Linked DNA regions of Homo sapiens: region 1 is linked to region 2. Evidence: promoter capture Hi-C in 16 types of primary human blood cells and fetal thymus (Javierre and others, 2016). All regions are on one chromosome and are shown on one strand. The core of a region is centred on a gene start or on the middle of the fragment in contact, and the rest is flanking DNA. Distances in the headings are between cores, read along the strand shown. Region 1 overlaps MAML1 (mastermind like transcriptional coactivator 1). Region 2 holds the start of LTC4S (leukotriene C4 synthase).

Evidence for each region. The method cuts DNA at HindIII sites, captures the fragments that hold promoters and counts their contacts. A CHiCAGO score of 5 or more calls a contact.
Region 1: a fragment that was not itself captured here is called in contact with the fragment with the promoter of LTC4S in region 2 in 2 of 17 cell types (monocytes and M0 macrophages); the score reaches 6.9 in monocytes.

The regions. Positions count from the first base shown.
Region 1 is chr5:179,739,852-179,742,706 of GRCh38, forward strand. The region is part of intron 1 of MAML1 (mastermind like transcriptional coactivator 1); the gene reads left to right. Among named protein-coding and RNA genes, the nearest start is that of MAML1, 8.5 kb to the left of the region's middle. The HindIII fragment of the contact is 1,073 bases long and covers 806-1,878 here.
Region 2 is chr5:179,792,496-179,795,274 of GRCh38, forward strand. LTC4S (leukotriene C4 synthase) reads left to right here and starts at 1,491. Exons shown (of 5, transcript NM_145867.2): 1 at 1,491-1,643. The coding sequence starts at 1,586. RefSeq lists enhancers at 679-1,306, 881-960, 981-1,130, 2,614-2,779 and a silencer at 1,481-1,550. The HindIII fragment of the contact is 38,202 bases long and covers 1-2,779 here.

The DNA.
Region 1 (2,855 bases), core at 92-2,591, 53 kb before region 2:
GTCCCGGCGAGGCTGGGCAGGGGTCTTAGAACCAATTCCCCATGGACACCAAGGGAACTGCTGTGTACAGTAGCGAATAGGACAAATTAAAATTCTGCTGTCATGGAGAAAGAGGAGGTCAATATTTTTGTTAACTTTGTTATAATAAGTGCTAAGCAAAAATTAAAAGCAGAGTCATGTGATACTAAATGACAGTCGTAGCTTAAGATGCCTTGATTTGAGCTTGATGATTGAGAGGCTGTCAGTCAGCTGAAAGTCTTAGAACATTCCAGTTAGAGAGAACCACCAGTACCAAGTGTCTGAGTTAGGACCCTTCTGAGCTGGCATGAAGAACAGAAAGCAGGCCAGTGTGTCTGGAGCAGCGTGGCACCTAGGACCAGATCAAGTGCAGTAGGAAGCAGTAGCAGGATAGGGAGCAGAAACATGATATGATCCAACTTAGGTTTTTTTGCTCTGCTGACCAGTCTGGAGTGCAGGGGCGCAATCTCAGCTCACTACAAGCTCCGCCTCCCGGGTTCACGCCATTTTCCTGCCTCAGCCTCCCAAGTAGCTGGGACTACAGGTGCCCGCCACCACACCCGGCTAATTTTTTTGTATTTTTTTTTTTAGTAGAGACGGGTTTCACCGTGTTAGCCAGGATGGTCTCTATCTCCTGACCTCGTGATCCGCCCATCTCGGCCTCCTAAAGTGCTGGGATTACAGGTGTGAGCCACTGTGCCCGGCCGATCTTTAAGTTTTGGAAGATGGTTCTGGTGCTAGGTGGAGGATGCCTGGGGTTGGTGTGGATAGGAGTGGATGCATATAAAGCTTTTGTAGCTCTCTAGATGCCAGGGCTGGGGCTGGTGGTAGCAGTGGAGATGGAGAAGAGGAGATGGGTTTTGGACAGTTCCTGAGGGCAGAGGTGACAGGACTGGGTTGCTGGACTAGATGGCTTTGTTTTGCGGGCAGGAGAGGGGAGTATTCAAGGGAAATTCCTAGTTTTATGGCTTGAGAAACTTTCTTTGCACTTTAAAAATATTAGTGTTCTCTAGGCAACTATATCCCTGGCCATTTTCACTCTTTTTTTCCCCTGGGTGATGTTATTGATTCTTTCATAGCTTCATTTGTCACCTGTAATAATACTCTTCAAATCCCCAGTCCAGATCTGTCTTCCAGATTTCAAATCCACATTTCCAGCTGTCTGCTGGACATTTTCATCTTTCCAGGATATATTTCCCACATATCCAAAATGGACTTTCCCTTTTTCCTACCAAATCATATGTTCCTTCTAAGTATTTTCCCTAACCCAGTCATCCAGAGTAAAAACCTGGGAATTTTCCACTCCTTTTCCACAATTCCCAGCGTTCAGTTGGTGGTTCTTTCAACCAACATTGAAGTCCTGCTGGAGCCAGGAATCGTGGTAGATGGTGAACCTGTATCGCGGAGCCTAAGTGGGAGCAGATGATACACAGGTCATTGCAAAGCCGAGTTCAGGGCTAAAGCCTGTGAGAATATTGAGGAAGGGGGATGCCTTTTTGGTGAAGTTTGGAAGGCTTTAAAGAATTGACTCTTGGCCAGGCGTGGTGGCTCACGCCTGTAATCCCAGCACTTTGAGAGGCTGAGGTGGGCGGATCACTTGAGATCAGGAGTTCAAGGGCAGCCTGGCCAAAATGGTGAAACCCCGTCTCTGGTAAAAAATACAAAAATTAGCCGGGCACGGTAGCATACACCTGTAATCCCAGTTACTCAGGAGGCTGAGGCAGGATAATCACTTGAACCCAGGAGGTCGAGGTTGTCGTGAGCTGAGATTGTGACATCGTACTACAGCCTGGGTGGCAGAGCGAGACTGTCTCAAAAAAAAAAAAAAAAAAAAAGAATTTACTTTTAAGGTGGATCTTAAGCTTTAGCCAGATGCTTTCCCCAGAGGTGTTCCATGGAACACTAATTTCATGGGCTGTTGAAAGTTACAGTGGAACACATTTGAGGAACACTGGGCTAAACAATTCTTTTTCCCTCTGAGCATCTGCACATATTGGCTAAACAAATGTATTTTATTTTTTAAATTTGTTTTATTGATTTATTTTTTGAGACAGAGTCTCCGTCTGTCGCCAGGCTGGAGTGCAGTGGGGTGATCTCGGCTCACTGCAACCTCCACCTCCTGGGTTCAAGCAATTTTCCCACCTCAGCCTCCCAAGTAGCTGAGGCTAATTTTTTGTATTTTTAGTAGAGACGGGGTTTCACCATGTTTGCCAGATTGGTCTCGAACTCCTGACCTCAGGTGATCCACCCGCCTCGGTCTCCCAAAGTGCCGGGATTACAGGCGTGAGCCACCGCACCTGGCCAACAAACTTAATTTGCTTTATTAAGAACATTTTTGGCCAGGCACGGTGGCTCATGCCTGTAATCCCAGCACTTTGGGAGGCCAAGGCGGGTGGATCATCTGAGGTCAGGAGTTTGAGACCAGTCTGGCCAATATGGTGAAACCTCATCTCTACTAAAAATACAAAAATTAGCCGGACGTGGTGGTACGTGCCTGTAATCCCAGCTACTCAGGAGGCTGAGGCAGGGGAATCCCTAGAACCTGGGCACCGGAGGTTGCAGTGAGCCGAGATCGTGACACTGCACTCCAGCCCAGGCGACAGAGTGAGATTCCATCTCAAAATAAATAATAAAAAAAAAACCAACATTTTTGCCACATTCAGTGTCTGACACCAGTAATCCCAGCATTTTGAGAGGCTGAGGTGGGTGGATCATTTGAAATCAGGAGTTCGAGACCAGCCTGGCCAACATGGTGAAACCCTGTCCCTACTAAAAAAATAAAAATAAATTAGCTGGGCGTGACGGCACACACCTCTAATCCCAGGTACTTGGGAGGC
Region 2 (2,779 bases), core at 241-2,740:
ACGCGGCCACCATCGCTCCCTGGCACTACATCTGTGTCCGGGATCTAGGAGGCAGTCCTCCATCACTGAGCCCCAAGATGACTGTCACAGCTTGGTCTAAAGCAGGGGCCGGGCCTGAGCCCTGGCCCCTGCCCTGGAGGAGCTCACAGAGCCCCCAGCTGGGGCATATCTGGTTTCCGGGGGCAGGGGCGATACCCAGAGGAGGAAGAAGGGATTCTGAGAGAGCCCAACAGGCTCCGAGCCTCAGGCTGGAGCTGAGCTTGGGGCAGCAAGGAAGGACCAGGTGCGAGGGCAGAACCATGCGGCCCGACCCCTGCAGCACGGCCTGTGGCCTCCCCCAGCTCCTGCCCGTGCTTCTGGGTCAGTCTGGACTTTGCCACTTCTGACCAAAAGCCACCGCAAACCCACTCAAGCCAAAAGAGGAAGTGACCGTTAGGCCCAACTGGGAAGGCTGGCGGCCAGGGGCACTCCAGGCAGGGCGAGGGGGGCGGCCGGGGGCGCTCCAGGCGGGGCGAGGGAGACACCCAGAACTCCAGGCAGGAGTCCTCGGGTGCCACCTTTCCTCTCCACCTGGCCCTGCGTGGGCTCTGTCCTCAGGGTGGCCCGCCGTAGTCCCCCTCCCCACTCTGAGTTTCCTGTCCCAAAGTCCTAAGGAAGTTTCCAGAACTACATCTCACCATCTTGAGTCAGCCTTGGCTCAGTGTCCATCTCACAGGCCTGGAAGGGGCAGGAGTCAGCACTGTCCAGACCACAGGGCCTGAGTGTGGGGAGGGCAGCCGTCTAGGAAGGTGGTGGAGGGTTGTTACCTTGAGGCAAGAGGGCTGCGGGGCAGAAAGACACAGCAGGTGACTGTTGTGGGAGGCCCAAGAGAGGCCTGGGAGAGGGATGGCCCACAAGGGCTGACCCTCCCGCCACCCAGGGGGCCTTGGACAGGTTTCCTCCTGGCAGGGTGGCCCTTGTGCATGGAACCCCTACAACGACTAAGGCTGGCAGGCATGAGGTTTCCTGAAGGAGAAAGAGCTTGTGGGGCCCAGTGTGGCTGGGGGGGCGCTGGGACTCCATTCTGAAGCCAAAGGCACTGGGAAGGGCTTCCGCAGAGGAGGGTTTGGCAGGGGTTGCCAGGAACAGCCTGGATGGGGACAGGGAACAGATAAGGTGGGTGGAGGAGTTAGCCGGGAGCCTGGGGCTGGCTCCAGCATGATGTGGGGGTCTGCAAGGCCCTGGAGAAAGTGGGGTGGTGCAGCAGGGGGCACACCCACAGCTGGAGCTGACCCAGATGGACAGCTTGGGCTCTGCCACGCGGGACTAGGCAAGGAAGGGGCACGAACAAGCAGGAAGTGGTGAGGCGGTCTCCAGCTAGCTGCTCTCCCCTGCCCAGACTTTGGTTTCCTCCCTGCTGGCTTGGCCTGGCTCCCTGGCTCTGTGTGGTATGGTCACACCCCCGTGCACCCCCTCCACTGAGATGGGGCGGGGAGAGCACCGAGGCTGCTCTTCCTCTCCTGGGCCGTCCTCTGAGCAGCAGACGGGGCTAAGCGTTCCCCAGCTCGCCTTCACACACAGCCCGTGCCACCACACCGACGGTACCATGAAGGACGAGGTAGCTCTACTGGCTGCTGTCACCCTCCTGGGAGTCCTGCTGCAAGGTGGGCTGGTTCCTATCTAGGAAGAGGGTGGGCCTTAGATCCCTACAGCTTGCCCTCTGCCCCCTAGGCCCAGGTGGAGGGCAGAGGTGGGGACTCCAGCCCAGGCCCAAGCTGGAAGAGGGTGGGGACTTTCAGGGAACTGGGGGGCACCTGGCTGTGAGAGCTGTAGGACTTGGGGGTGGCAAGGGTGCCAGGACAAATGGTAGGATAGCCATGGGCTTGGGGAAGCTGATCTCTGCTCTTTCCAGCTGTCCCCTCTCTGGGCGTCCCAGCAAGCGGCCCCCATTCCCTGGCTCTGCTTCAAAGGCACCTCCATACTGGGACCACGTGGAGCAGGGTAGAGGTGGGACTCCTTCCTCCAGCCCCCTAAAAAGAGCCTGCTTAATGCCTTTCTCAGACTGGCCCTAAAGGACACATTCCTTGGCCAGATATCCTTGCCACCTAAGAGACACCACTACTCCACAGTGTGTGGGCTAGGATAAGGCACAGCCTGGGGAGGGGGCTCTGAAGGGGCTGAACAGACAGGCCAGCCTGACCTCCAGCTGCTCCTGCACTGAGCTGGATGGCCACCCTGTGACACCCATCTGCAGAGGGCCCAGAACCAAAGGTGCCAGGGCTGCAGGACTCAGGGGGAGATGGTCCGACGGGAGGTCTGGGGAGGGAGCGCACAGCCAGCACTGGTCTGTGTGTGGTCTGGCCTGGCCTCACCTGACCAAGAGAAGGGCTCCTGCCCACAGAGAAACTTTAGGGCCAGCCCACCCTCTGCAACTACCCCAGCCCTGGGGTCCTGGGGTTAGGCTAGGAGAGTCCCAGCTGCAACCTCCTGGGAGCAGGAGAGAAGGTGTCTGTCAGATTTAGGCCTGGGACCGGAATGCAGGAACAGAGAAACTGAGGTTTGGAGGCACAGGGACGCAGGCTTTAGTGATCCCGGCCTGAGGCAGGGTCAGAGGGCCCTGCTGGTGGGCGCTGGTAGGTGGGTGACCAGGGACTGTTAGCTACAGGGAGTGTGCTTCCTTGCACCTGGGAGGATGCAGCCAGCTCTGCCCTCAGACTCCCGAGGCACTTCCTGGCCAGGGACCTGAAAGCTGCATTTGCCTGTGTTTTGAGAGTGAAATGATTCAGAAACAAGGACTCAA